Regions from separate parts of the Homo sapiens genome. Here region 2 is linked to region 1. Evidence: promoter capture Hi-C in 16 types of primary human blood cells and fetal thymus (Javierre and others, 2016). All regions are on one chromosome and are shown on one strand. Each heading gives the region's core, a stretch centred on a gene start or on the middle of the fragment in contact. The rest is flanking DNA. Distances are from core to core; before and after follow the strand shown. Region 1 holds the start of SORBS1 (sorbin and SH3 domain containing 1). Region 2 holds the start of ENTPD1-AS1 (ENTPD1 antisense RNA 1).

Region 1 (7,586 bases), core at 2,856-5,355:
CATTCTGAGGCTTAGCTTAGGTCACAAGCCAGAAGCTCCCCCAAATGAGCTACAATTCAGTAAATCATTCATCTCCAAGTATCTCCTCTGAAAAGGGAGTATTCGAAACACTATCTCATAAAACATTCAAAGCACCGATGAAAATCCAAGGAGAAAATGCTGCTTGCACTGAAACGAAATCCATGGAAAAGTGTTCTGAGTTTTGCATTTACAAAAAAACCGGGACTTCAGCAGAACTGAGTCCCACCTCAGCATCAGCCAGCATCACCACCCGCACACCTGACTTCCCACATGTCCACATTCTGCATGCTCCCGTGGATCTAAAGGCCTCAGTTGGTCCTGAAACTAAGCAGCCTCCATGACACTTTGCAATCTGAGGGTCAACAGGAGCAATCCCAAGGAGATTCCAAGACAGTCTCAGGCTGAGGTTGAACTCTCAGTCCACCCCCCCACCCCCCATCCTAGGCTACCAAACCTCCCCTCACTTCACCCCAAGGGCTGCAGAAGAGCTCAGCTGTTTCAGAGACAATAGAGCCTCCCCCTTTCAAGCTCCATCCTTTTCTCCTCCAAGCTTGGTTTCTGTGTTTTTCCCTTCCCCACATAATCTGTCCCCAGCCTCCTACTTTCTCGTCTGTTTCTCCAATCTCTCTCTTCTTGTGCTCCTATTTCCTCCTCATGTTTCGCTATTCCATCTTAGAATCATTTCTCTCAGAGGAAGAGGGGGCTTAACAGATACATATAGGCCGGGCACCGTGGCTCAAGCCTATAACCCCAGCATGCTGGAAGGCCAATGCAGGCGGATCGCTTGAGTCCAGGAGTTTGAGACCAGCCTGGGCAACACCGCAAAACTCTGTCTCTACAAAAAGTACAAAAATTAGCTGGGTGTGGTAGTGCGTGCCTGTGGTCCCAGCTACTCGGGAGGCTGAGGTAGGAGGACTGCCTGGGCCCAGGAGGTCGAGGCTGCAGTGAGCCATGATTGTGCCACTGCACTCCAGCCTGGGTGACAGGTGAGACCCTGTCTCAAAACAACCACCACCACCAAAAAACAAAAAAACCCAGATACATCTGGAAACAAGATCTACAATCTATCCCCCCGAGTTCCCACCCCAGCTCCACATCTTGCTAGCTGTGCAACCTTGGAAAAATGGCCAAACCTCCCAACCCCTCAAATTCCTCAGTTTGGCGGGGAAGGGGGAGGAACATGGCAATCACAGAGGTCTTTTATAACTCTCATCTTCTAGATAGGTAAACGTTCACCTGTGTAACCATGAATAAACCAGCAAGTTAAACATCCACAGGGAAAGAGAACAAATTACAGAAACTCCCTTTCCTCAGCAATCTATCATCCCACCCTCATCTCCCACAACCACTCACTCTGGGGTCTGTGCCTCTCACTCTGGACCGTTCTAGCTCTGAATTGTTTACATACTTACAGTAAAACCTCACAAATCACACTAATCAAGGAAAAGGTAGATGTGAATCCAACAGAAGCCTGCATCCTAGAATGCTTCTTCTATGCCATTGTGCAATACTTTGAATTTATTATCAATTTAGCAAACAGGAAAGAACCTGAAAATGCCATCACAAACTGTGACTCTAAGAACAGTGGAGTTGTCAGGAACCCTGGAAGACCTTCTGCCCTATCATCCTCCACTTCACCAGCAAGGACACAGGCCCAGAGAGCAGAAGCCACTAGCCCAAAGCCCAAAGATTGGTGGCCAGGACCAAAGCTAGCTGTCCTGCCTCTGGTCCAGAGCTTCTCCACCAAAGCTTTTTGAGACCATCCATGCCTTTCTCCTAGAGACAGGTCAAATCCTAAATTACCATAGAGTGCCCTCTACAGCAAATCTATCTCCACATCCAGGGAAGGGTCTGGAGATAAGTTAGGATGACCTGATCATTATCAATGCTGCACAATAAAAACTTTCTTTCCTGGCCCTGCCCTTTCATTGTTTACAAAGAAAACCCTAGACTCTGCTATCTGTATTGAACTCTTATTTTAGAGAAGGGGAAAGAGAGGAACAGCTGAACAGTGCTTTGTTCTGCCAGGAAGAATTTGCTCATCCTTTCCCATAACTCCTACCCACTCCCCAATATGCCCAATCTCTTCCGAAAAGTATACAGAAACTCTCCAACTACAACAAATGAAAGCAGGTAGGAGAAGGAAAAGGCCAACAAGGCGGGTATCGTCCACAAGATGACAATACCCTCCCAACTCTTTACCCCACAGGGTAGACAGCAGTTCATTTCAGTTGCTAATTCCCTGCAGGGAAGTCGCCAAAGGAGTGGTCTCAGGGCCCTCCAGCTGAGAAATGTGCTCTCTGCAACCCCTGGAGAACTAACCCTTTCCTAACCATCTGCTCCAACAGTGCCTTGGGCAAAGGTGCCAACAGACCAACCCTTCCCTTCTTTCCCCTCAGGCCAAGAAAGAGACATCAGAGCTTGGTTGGCAAGGGGCTATTTAAGGCAGCATCCAGAGGGCGGGGCAGAAAACTGCTGGAGGCATCCTCCTCCTCCACCCCTCCCCCTCACAGCCCAAACACACGCCCCTCACTCTGTAGACAGCCATCTGCCTCATCGGTGTCTGAAGGCTGTAGATATGTCCATCATCTGTCTTCTGTCATTGATGCTGCTGACCCCTCTGTGTCCACCCCACTTTTAATCCAACCCTCCTCTCTTCGATCACCACCAAGATACCTTTCCAACCAAAACCACAGAATTGAATCTAAGCAGAGGAGCTCAAAACACAAGGAGAGTGAAGACAGCCAATCCATCCCCCGCCTCCACTTAAGAGGAAAAAAGGGCGCGGGGGGCTGGGCGGGGGGGGGGGTGTTGAGGGGAGAGATGGAGTCAGAGGCCTGACACGCCAGATAGGTTCCATGATGTCTCTAGATGAACCTCCCTCCTATTGACGATGAAACCAATTCCAGCAATTTCAGCAGGTCGGCCCTGTGACAACAGGGGCATCCCAACGCTCAGTGTTTAAAACAAAAATCCAAAGGCTCGCCCAGAACATGCTGGGAAAAACCGAGGACTGAACAAAACGAGCCATGCTCAGTGGGATCCCTTCTGCTTTTACGTAGCAATGTAATAGCGTAATAAATTCTTGTCTGCCTGGAGAAAGCATGCACTGGTGAATTTCAAAGCCATCTTACGACAGCGGATGCATGGGGATGCAGAATTCGACAGCACATTCCCCCATGAAGGAAACATAATGACTTCAAGCCTCTTTCCCCTCTATCTTGAATGGCGCTACCACGTATCAAGGAAGCCACATCGGAAAGCAGCGAGGTGGTAGCAGGGGATGCCCGGGGAATTCGGAGAAAGGAGTTGCTTGCTGTCCATGTCGGTGATGAGCTGCCTAGCAAGATGCTGTCAGCCACTCGGGGAGAAGAAGGGGCACGGGCGGCACGGGCAGGCGCCGTGTCCCCGGCGCATACTAGTCCCCGTTCATTCAGGCGGGTCCGGCCAACCGCGTCGTCCTTGCGCCCCTCCCGCCGCCCTCTCCAGGGGATGCTGATGAATGAACACACCTGAGATGCCTCCATCCCGCCGCTCGCTCCCTCCGCCTTCCTCTGGCTGCTGCAGAGGTGCCCCTCCTCGGTAGTTTCACTTTACAGCACAAACCCATTCGGGCTTTGATGTCTCCTCCACCCACCCAAATTGCAGCCACCCTGAGACGGGCGGACATTCTCTCCTAGCAGAGGCCATGATCGTACTACCCCACACCCACCAAAAAAGGAAATTTAAAAACCCCCAACCCTGGAAGCCCCCAGATCCTCCGCACCCTGGGGAACTTTCCTTGAAAGACTGGGGATTCGCCGAGCAGGCAGGATGGACGGTTCGGCCGCGAGGGACCACCGCTTTCCCTGTGCCCATGGGGGGATGCTCTGGGGGAGGGGGTCCCCCAAGTCCCTCCAACAGCTGGCCCTTTAAATGCGCCTCCTCCGAGCGCGGAACAAAGGCGCCGCCCGCGGGGGCCGAGCCGCGCACACCCCCGGCGCTGCCGCCGCCGAGCGGGCAAGCGCGGCCGGGCGGGCGAGCGCGGGCTTACCTTGCTGGTCGCCGGGCGGGCGGGCTGCGCGCGTCCGCCCCACTCGCACTACACGCTGCAGCTGGCCCCGCTCTGTTTTTCTGGGACTCAGCGCTGACTTCACCGACACTCCGCGGACAACCAATGGGCTGCGGTGCCCGCCCCCTCATTAGCATGCCTCTGGAACCGTCCACTCTGGCAGCGCCCGGCCAGCGGGCGGTGCCGGGGGCGGGGCCGGGCCCAGCCGTGACAGGAAGGGGCGTGTGCGCGGATGGGAGGCGAAGAAGTGTCCGGCGCCCGGCTCCTGGCATTGTGAGCCCGCCGGCCTCCGCCGGTAACGGGCGCGCGGGCCTAGTAACCCTTTCCGTCCTGGCCGGGCCGGACGCTGGCCTGGCGCGCCTTCTGGTCCTTCGGAAGGGTCGCCCACGGGGAGCTTGGAAGGAACCTTAGACGTAAAATAACAGTGATAAGTTATTTAACTCCTGGGCCTCAGTTTACCCATCTGTAAAATGGCATAATAGTCCGACTTCGTAAAATCTAGTGAAGATTAACATAGTTAACATAGGTGATGCATTTTGATCAGTTCCTGGCCGTCGTGCTACATAAACGTTTGCTGTTGTCATTCGTGTGCTCTGTACCAGCCAGTGTGCTTAATGCTTCCCGGATATTTCCTCATTTGATCCTCTTAGCCTGATAAGAGAGGAACGATTACTAATCCATATTTTTCTAGTGAGAAAACTGAAAATAATTACTATTTTTATGCAGGAAAACTGAGGTGTAGTTTAAGTGGCTTGTCCGAGGTCACACAGCAAGTGGTGCAACCAGGATTTGAACCCAGGCTCTGAGATTTCACTCATGCAACACACATATATTTAGAGGCTCTGTGGCAGTGCTGGACCCCAGTGTTAACTGCAGAGAACAAGACAGGCAAGGCCTTTTCCCTTAGGAAGCTTCCATTTTAGTGGAGACAAGTAAATAAATAAGATCCTCTACAATGTGAAAAGTAGAGTGCATACAATGCAACAAGGTCATTGCAAGTGGGGGGAAGGCACCGTGTTAGATGGGGTTCAGAGCTAACCACTGTGCTATGCCATTCTCCTGACCTCCTCTAGTCCCCCTCAGAGTTACAGAAAAGGAAACAGAGACAGGGATCAGAGTGGGGAATCTGCTGGCCCAAGGTCGCAGAGCCAGCAAGTACTGGTCTGGAACTTGCTCCCTCCATGCCCAGCTTCCCACATCCCTGAAGATAAGACACTCGCCCTTTGGGCTGAGCACAACTGATTTTTGTCAGCTGCCCTTGCAAGCATCTTCAGCCAGAGCACATTCTCAGTGAACAGGCTGTGGGTGGCAGGGTAAAGACTGGCCTTGATAACTGCACAGACTGATCGGAAACTCATCAGCAAAGATTCTTAGATGTCAGGGAACGGTGACAAGTCTTTGGTGACCACCTGGTGTCCTCTGCTGTGTATTAAAAAAAAAAAGAAGAGTCCTAGCCATCTGGAAGCTTACTCTATAAATGAGAAAACACTGGGGAACTACTCAACCTAGGGAGCCCCCAGCCCACGGCCTTCCCCTATCTGCACCTCATCCTGCAGCTTTTCAAAGAACACTTCCCCGGCTCTCCTATTTATTTACTCCACAATCTGTGTAAGACAGCTCTCTCTGGGCTATAAAGTAATAAAACAGCTAGTATTTATTGAGCACGTCTAGGCTGCTATGCACCGTACTATACTTGTGCTAAGAGCTTTACATGCGTTAACTCACATCCACCACACGACCCCAGGTGGGAATAGTGTCGTTATCCTGAGGTTATCCACAGAGGTGTATAACAAAGGGTAGAGAGACTAGTTACTTACCCAGCAAATTCAGGGCAACACCATTTTAGAATAGCCAAAAAAAAAAAAAATCAAAACAATCCAAATATCCAATTTGAGTGCATTGGTTAATAATAGTACAACCATATGACAGAATATCATATATTAATAGCTACAAAAAATGAAGAGGTTTATTGACACATAAAGATGCTCATAATAGGCTGGGAGTGGTGGCTCACGCCTGTAATCCCAGCACTCTAGGAGGCCAAGGTGGGCAGCGGTGGATCACCTGAGCTCAGGAGTTTGAGACCAGCCTGGGAAACATGGTGAAACCCCATCTCTACTAAAGAATCCAAAATTAGCTGGGCATGGTGGCGTGCACCTGTGGGAGGCTGAGGCAGGAGAATTGCCTGAGCCTGGGAGGCGGAGGTTGCAGTGAGCCAAGATCGTGCCACTGCACTACAGCCTGGGCAACAGAATAAGACTCCATCTCAAAAAAAAGAAAAAAAAAAAAGATGCTCAGATTATTGAATGGAAAAATAGGTAGAAAACTAGTTTTATACTGCAATCCCATTAGAACTATTCTTATGGGATTGCAAGTAATTATTTTTGCTCATCCATAGTCTTCTGATTTTTTTCTTCATAAACATCTACCAACTTGTCCAGTGAAAATAAAATAATTTTAAGATGAAAAACCAGACTCTATCAATGAAGATTTCATCTACACTATCTCAAGGAATCTTAAGGGAGGCCTAAGGCTTCAGGTCATCCCTCAAATATTGAACCTCTCTGCTGTTTCCAGTCTGTGTCACTGTTGCATGTCTCACTGTAAGGCATAACATTGCCATTAGGATTTATGAAAGAAATGGTAAAATAGTGGAAAGTCAAGAAAGAAGGAAAGTGGAAAAAACAGAAAGAAAAATCCTACTGGTGGCCAGGCGCAGTGGCTCACGCCAGTAATCCCAGCACTTTGGGAGGCCGAGGCAGGCGGATCACGAGGTCAGGAGTTCGAGACCAGCCTGGCCAACATGGTGAAACCCCATCTCTACTAAAAATACAAAAAATTAGCCAGGCGTGGTGGCACGCACCTGTAATCTCAGCTACTCGGGAGGCTGAGGCAGGAGAATCGCTTGAACCCAGGAGGTGGAGGTTGCAGTGAGCCAAGACCACACCACTGCACTCCAGCCTGGCGACAGAGCGAGACTCCATCTCAAAAAAAGAAAAGAAAAGAAAAATCCTACTGTCCTTCAGGACTCATCTCAGGTGTCTCCTCCAAGAAATGTTGAAAGTCACGGTCTTTCGATGGGTTGGGTTTTTGTTTTTGTTTCTGTTTTTGAAACAGGGTTTCACTCATTCCTGTCACCCAGGCTGGAATGCAATGGCGCAATCTCGGCTCACTGCAGCCTTGATCTTCTGGGCTCAAGGGATCCTCCTGCCTCACCCTCCCAAGTAGCTGGGACTACAGACATGGGCCACTGTGGCCAGCTAATTTTGTGTATTTTTGGTAGAGACAGAGTTTCACCATTTTGCCAGGCTGGTCTCAAACTCCTGGACTCAAGCGATCTGCCCCCCTCAGCCTCCCCAAGTGCTGGGATTACAGGCGTGAGCCACCACACCTGGCCAGTCCTTCAATGTTTTAACGCTGAAAGCAACCCAAGAAATCATCAGGTGTAATCGTGTCAGTTCATCCTATCTCCAGTCATTCATAGATTCATCTGGGCAGCAGGCCCTGAGCTAGG
Region 2 (7,586 bases), core at 3,489-5,988, 530 kb after region 1:
AAGTAAGTACTAACAGAAGTGAATACTATTCCCTCCTCATTACTGCACAGGCATAACTAAAGAATAAAAACTTTGTGTTTTCTGTAAAAAAGGACTCTGAGAAAAGGAAATTGATAGTGAAAATTCCAAGATGTTCATGGTCAATGTTCACTCAGTAATGAAGTGCTATCAAGTGGTACAGAGTTTTATTTTAGTGGCAGGAATTTTTGTAATTATGTAAATGATTTTACTCCTATATTTGGTCTTTAAAAATTGAATATACAGGCATATACCCTTTACAGAATTATGTAAGTAAAATTATAGCCATAATCACATTTAACAATTGAAACGATTTTTAACATCTGGATTATGAATATAAAATAATTTCTTGTATCTCATGTTTAGTTAAAACACTGTGTTATTTGAGGGTAACATTTTTTTTGTTAATTTTCCCAAATCCCTTCCTGATGATACCTCACACACTGGCTTTTCTGGCCACAGCACAAAACTCAGCTGATTATCTACAGAGAACAGTCTACAACTCTATAATTATTCCTGTGCCACCTTCCTGGTTCTAACCGAAAGTACAGACTATTAGACATCCATAATTACGGTTGGAATAATTTCTCCTGTTAACATTATTCTTACACTTGCCCACCCAAAAACTTGGAACACTTTTCTGCCCACTGACATAATTTCAATTATGACATAATTTCAATTGTAGTTTATTTTTATTGTTCATAACTCAGAAATATTCAATATTATTTGTATACTAGGAAAGATAGTATGCCTAATCACCTCCAGAATACTCACAAAAATTAAATAAGCTATCAAATCACATTTTTAAAACTTTTTTTACAATCAAGATTTCTAAAAATTAAATAATGTTCCTATACTTTGGCCACTTTAAAAATAAATCAGATTCTTTGTTGGAAAGTCTATAAGCCAGCATTTCAATTTTTACTATAACTCTTCGAGGAACAAAATATACCCCATACTTGATGACAATCAGCAATAATCAGCAGAAGAAAAGATATTTGGAAAGAAAGACAGTTTACAACAGTGAACTTCTGAATGCAAAAAATTTCAGTGCAAAATAGTTTTACACTATTAATACTATTGCAGTCATGTGCTACATAATGACATTTCACTGACGGTCCCATAAAGTTATAATATTTTTACTGTACCTTTTCTATGTCTAGACATGTTTACATATGCAAATACCATTGTGTTACAACCACCTATGGTATCCAGTACAGTAACATGCTATACAGGTTTGTAACCTAGGAGCAATACGCCATACCATACAGATATGTAGTAGCCCATACCATGTAGATTTATGTAAGTACACGCACAATAACAAAATCACCCAACACATTTCTCAGAATGTATCCCTGTCATTAAGCGATGCATGACTGTGTATTTTATGTCTAATTCAAGTCAAACACAATTTTTTAATATTGTATTTGTAATATGAAATGAAGACGTGGCAGGGCACAGTGGCTGATGCCTGTAATCCTAGAACTTTGGAAGCTGAGGCAGGCAGATGGCTTGAGCCCAGAAGTTCAAGACCAGCCTGGGAAATATGGTAAGACCCTGTCTCTACAAAAAAATTCAAAAATTAACTGGTGCGGTGGTGTGTGCCTGTAGTCCTAGCTACTTGGGAGGCTGAGGCGGGAGGATCACTTGAGCCTTGGAGGCAGAGGTTGCAGTGAGCCAAGATAGCGTCACTGCACTCCAGCATGAGCAACAGAGTGAGATTGTCTCAAACAAAGAAAAAAGAAATGAAGACTTGTTTACTTCATTGAGTAAATGATTACTGAACACTCACTATGTGCCAGGCATGTTCTCAATATGGGGGATTCACAGGTGATAAAGACAAACATAGTTTCTACTTTTCCATTATCATGAAGCCCAAATTTTTTAAAAATTTATTTTGCAGATGTCATCAAACGAAGTCTATGTGTTATCTTGAATCATTTACATTCAAAAATACTTAATCCTGCAATAAAATGTTAAAAAGTCACAGATGTTACAGAGTCAGGGTTGAAAAAGAGCTCATTAGTTCCAAGATGCACATTATTTTACATTTTGACATCTCTGAAATCAGTCACATCTTACAATGTAATCAGACTAGACGGCAATGGAGATGGAGTTGGCACTGCCGTGCATCAAAACTTCAAAACTCAGAATGAGCACTAGGGGCTTGGAAGAAAATCCCAGGTTTGATGGTAAAGGCACCATTTTAAGGAATTTTTTTTTTTTTTTTTGTGGTAGAGATGGGATATCGCTATGCTGACTGACCAGGCTGGTCTCAAACTCCTGGCCTCAAGCAATCCTCCCATCTGGGCCTCCCAAAGTGGTGGGATTACAGGCGTGAAGCACCACACCCAGCCTTAAGGATTTCTGATGATTCAAGATTCAATAAAACATAATAGTTCAAAGTTTTCATTTATTATAGGTGAGGAAAATGAAATTCAGAGTGGTCACACAACTTGCCCTAGTTTACAAAGCTGGACAGGTAGAATAGAGTCCAGGTCTGTTTTCTACAGTCATTCACTCTTCTACCAGTGTTCAGTTATATGGAGGAAAAGGGTGTCATACAAAACAAGTAGGTAAGAAGATGGCTCTAAGTTACAAAGACGGATTTGTAACTTAATCCGTCCTTGCCTCAGTTTCTCCATCTATTAAAACAGGGATTTAACAAACCTAACTCACAGTACTGCTGTAAGCATTAAATAAAATATGTCTAGCAATTATCACAAAGATTGGCATATGGTAAATACTCCATAAATGTCAACTACTTGAGATCAAACTTTACATTTATTATACACTAAGTCAAGCCCACATATAGTTGTCTAAAGCGCTTGAAAACTAAATAAACTGGTCAAGTGTTTGAAGTGATAAATACAATGAAAATTTCCACCTTAACAATGTTTTGTCCAGGTACTATGCCAAGAACCCAATAGACCTACCTGCAAGAAACCATACAAAAAGCAAGATTCCAGGCTGGCATGACGATCAAATTATGTACTTCAATGCGTGTGAATGCATTTATAAGCACAGTCTCAATACATAAATAAGGAACAAAATATTTAAAATGTATAAACAGATCATTTCTCTTTGCTTTCTTTAAAATACTATATCAGAATCACCTGAGGAACTTGATAACAATTTTTTTAAAAACTATTATAACTACGTATATTAAGCCTTGTTAAAACCACAAGTTTTAGAGGTTTAAGCCTTACTAGGTCAGCTCTTCTGATTTTGAGAGTTTAAGTGAAAATTTAAATTATAACACAGTATGTGGAGTAAACCTGCTTCAAATATTAGTTTCTACATTATTGTTTCTATAAAAATAGTAATCTTCTGTATTTTAATATCAACTCATCACATATTAAATATTTCAGTCAAATCAAAATTTCATTTGAAATCTTCAATCTAAAAAATACACAGTTAAGCGCTTAAAAAGTAATTTTAACCACTAGGAAATGTTAATGATTAACTCACATTTGTTTCTGTTTCACTCCATGACAAAGTCTATAGGACACCCTGCAGAGAGGAAAACTCACATTAATATACCCATAATTTTACTTTCAGAAGCTTCTGGTAATCAAAGACTTATTATGAGGTGTCTTCATGTTACCACTGCGCAGTAGCAAACTTAAAATATTCTAAAGATTAATCTATTTTCTCATTTTTTTAATGCTTTTGTTAAAATCTCAACAAGTACTAACATGTTATCTAAATTTAAACCTTAAAACAATAACACGACCCAATATGTGAACTCTGCCTATTAATTCTAAAACTTTTAATAATAGTTTGCTTATGTTTGAGACTTAAAACAATAACATACTGCACTACACCCATCTTAGATATTTTCTAGGATCAAAGTCTATCTGGAGCAGGGCAAGCTGTGGTTGAGGGTGGTTGGGTCAGCAGGTAAGAGCCTTATGACCAGCTCTAAACGCCTCCACGGTGAGGAGCACCTCGAGCTAACAGACCAAGCACCAAAGGGTGGAACAGCTCAAGGTTGCATTTAGGAGACTCCAGCCTCGGCCGCCCGTGACTCCTCGACGAGCCCCACCTCTCTCGGTTCCAGCATCCGGCCCGCCCCTTCCTCCCAGGCTACCACAGTATCGCCCGCCGAGCTCCCGGGCTGCGGGAAATGACGGAAACAAAAACTTGGTACACAAAGAAGGGCTAGGTCAGAAGTGAGGTCCCACCCTGGCAAGAAGGGCGACTTTTCTAGAAAAACTTAGCGGCAAGTTAACGGGAAGCGCGGCGACACAGTTCCTACGATTGTGGGGGGCACTCTGCCGCCAGGCAGTCTCATCCTTTGTCCTTTGAGAGGCCTCCTTGAAGCCGAAGGCTCTTAAGTGTCCCTGGGCAACCCTTGACTCGATCTCCATTACGGGCCCTCACTGACAGCAGCCATGACAGTTGCTTCCGGATATATTGAATCGCCGCGGCCAGAGTCTCCCGGAAGTGACGCAACGCGGAGGGATCCGCGTTCGGCAGTGGGAGACCGAAGCGAAGTGGTTCCCGGAAGCGGCTGCAGCTGGGCTGCTGGTGGCGGGGCGGGGGTAGAGTGGGGAGAGAGGTTGTGGGTCTTACAACCAACCAACCCCAACACGTTTTACGTGTTAGGCAGGCATTGTGCTGAACACCTCATTGGCAAGCCATTTAATCCCTTCCTTACAATCCCAGCAGTCAGAAATGTATCACTTACATTTTATATATGGGGAAACTAAGGTTAAGAGAGGGCAAGTAAATTTGTCCGAGATCGTATAGCTGGTACTTGGTGAACGTGGTCTAACCCAGACACCGCGTTCTCCCTGGTGACTCCATTTTGTAAAACCAGAGCTGTTGGCGCATGGCATCCTCGTAAGCCCCTTTAAGTTAGGCACTCTGTTGCCCAGAGAGGGGCCAACTTGTAGCCAGTATGCTCTTTATGGTGAACACAAGGCCCACGTGTGTGCCTGGGTCCCCTTGGCTGAACCTCGGATTTCAATTGGTTTCTGACACCTTGCCTTTGCAGCATTCTCCGTCTGCAGCGCTGGTTACCTGAGGAAACTGTCAATGATTGCTAGGCTCTGGGGAACATTTTAGCTCCGTTTAGGCCCTTTTAAATCCAGGACTAAGACAGTTGGAGGCCTCTCACCATCACCAGATACTCTAGCTGGCCTTAACAGAGGGCCAAGGACCATAATCTTGGACTTTCCACCAGACCAAGTGTTTGTTTGGCTTCTGTTTCTTTAGAATATGACTGAAAACCAATCTGTAGTTTGTTTAGTCTTCTTTCTGCATTGACCAGTACTCACATAATAAAGTGGGACTAGCCACTAAGGCTATGTTTTTGTAAAAACAAATTATGCCTAGAAAAACACAAGAAATACATCAAAATTAACAGTGATAGTGTTTGAATAGAGAGTGATTTTATTTTTTTCTCTCTGCTTTCTCTTTTGCATATCTGCTATAAAACCCTTTTAAAATAGAAAAATAAGCAAACTGGCTATGGTAAAAACATTTTTAATTGCCTGCTGTTATAATGACGGCAAAGGCATGTTGTCACATTTTGATAAATGACCGTCCTTGATACAAATCACGTAGAGAAATCCTGTTTGACTAGAAAAGCATTGGATTTTTGTGAGTCAGTGTATTCTCAAAATTTTCGATATTTTGTTTTGGTTCTATAATCCTCACAGGAAAAGTAAAAAAGCAAATTGATGTTTTTCACACACTTTCGTATGAGAGTATGCTACCACCAAAAGTCTTCCCTAAAACAAAGTTGCAGGGGTCAAGTCATGTGGGGCGTTTGGATACTTGAAATGGTGGAGAACAAATATAAAAAGCTATTTTTATTCTGGCTGCTTTGGGGTACAGTTTTAAGCAATTTATTTCAGACTGCCAAAGAAAGCTTCATTCTTTATTCACATACTCTACTTCCCACTATTGCTTATTAGTGACTTCTAAAGCAGTGACAAAACAAGTAAAAGAAGATAGAAAGGAAAAATGAGAAGGGATCACGGGAAGAAGAAAATGTGGAGGAACAAAGACAGATGGTGATATTGGGGTTACTTTGGAACTCCAGGGTAGCATGTAACAGCCTTCTTATCCAAGTCCTGGCACAGGCCTGGTTGCCTACTAAAAGGTAAATTAGCATCTATGATGTTCCTGCTCACATACTCAGCACCCACAGTGATAAGTCTTACTAAAAATTCATCTTGATGCGCATTCAAATTAGACATATATTTTAACAAAAATGGAGGGGTTGAACAACAAGAAATGTAAAGTAAAATCCCATCATTTTTCCTGTTTTTTTATCTTACCATGTCATTCATTCATCCTGTGGTTAGTAGTATAACTATAAACTGGAAGTTTTGCCTGCAGCATTATAAAGCAACAACTATGAAACGCCAAAGTGAGGTGCTGACAAGATGCATGTTTTCCAAAGAAATGTCTTTACATTAGTCTGGCTCTGATGAGAAGTTGTTATGATGGGATTAAATGTGCAACAATTTTATTAGAGGAAACACCTGTGAGAGAGAATGGGCGGGAGCCAAGCAAGACTGGGAGAGGCTGCAAGTCTGAAATTGAGTAAAGCAGAGAGAGAGGGAAGGGTGGTGGAAGTTTCCTGGACTGCCAAACAGTCTAAGCAAGATTTAGAAAGGCTATTGGAAATCCTCAAGCCAAAATCACCTGTCAGAGGAGTCCTTCTTTCAGGAGCCAGCCTGCCTTATTATCTGTGCTGCTCTCAGTCACCGGCTGGAGCAGCCCATGGGTGAAAATGTGGCCAGGGAATTCAGAGTGCAGCAAGCATCTAGAGCCCTTGATCAGTTTTGCTCCCTGTATTGGCAGCCACAGTCCAAGAACTGGTTTTGCCGCTATTGGAACCTTTCACCAGTTTCATGGGTTAAAAGAAGATGTTGAAAGAGATGAGTTTATGAGGAGAAGTTTTGGGGAGAGCCATTGTTATATGCTTCCCCAGTCACCTTCAAGTCTAGTGAAGGGGGCTTCAATAGCAATACTCAGAGAACTTGACATGCATTTCCTGGGTTTTGAGAGGTACAGTAGTATCGTGACTCACATCTGGGAAATCCCAGGGGTAGGAGAGATGGGCCAGTGAGAATTTTGGCATAGGAGTGAAGGAAAGTTGCTATGTTGGGATCTGTAGTCACTGCCGTAGTTTGTCAAGGCAAATGATGCCTGAGTGTTTCTCGTGCAGCAGATGTGGGCCACGTGAAAAAAAGAGAAAGTTGGCCTGAGACCTTTTTGACTCTTGTGTATGGAGAGAATCTGTATGGTATGGATTGTTAGAGAAGCCATAGCTGTAGATGGAGCAATAGCTGGAGGAACAGAATGTATTGCCTATCTAGAGTGACCAACTTGTCCAGTGCCCTTGGACTTTCCCTGCTTTAGTACCAAAAGTCCCAAGTCCCAGGAATCCATGTTTGATCATTCTGTGTGTCATAGGAGTTGCAGCATCCAACGAACCTAAAAATCACCCGTGAGAGTGAGCCAAGTTTAAGTTTCAAGCAGGTCTAGAGTGTAAAACCAGCTTATGACCATGCCGGGATTAAAGTAGATTTTAGCAGAGGACAATT

What was found. Contacts are between HindIII fragments. The CHiCAGO score rates a contact against its expected background, and 5 or more counts as called.
Region 2: a contact is called between a fragment that was not itself captured here and the fragment with the promoter of SORBS1 in region 1, in 1 of 17 cell types (total CD8 T cells). The highest score is 5.1, in total CD8 T cells.

Annotation. Positions count from the first base shown.
Region 1 is chr10:95,557,266-95,564,851 of GRCh38, forward strand. It overlaps SORBS1 (sorbin and SH3 domain containing 1), which reads right to left and starts at 4,106. Exons shown (of 33, transcript NM_001034954.3): 1 at 4,055-4,106. RefSeq lists an enhancer at 3,689-4,451 and silencers at 3,936-4,045, 4,086-4,455. The HindIII fragment of the contact is 3,213 bases long and covers 1,769-4,981 here.
Region 2 is chr10:96,085,777-96,093,362 of GRCh38, forward strand. It overlaps ENTPD1-AS1 (ENTPD1 antisense RNA 1), which reads right to left and starts at 4,459. Exons shown (of 6, transcript NR_038444.1): 1 at 4,206-4,459; 2 at 3,490-3,531. RefSeq lists enhancers at 4,179-4,548, 4,559-4,608. The HindIII fragment of the contact is 2,317 bases long and covers 3,581-5,897 here.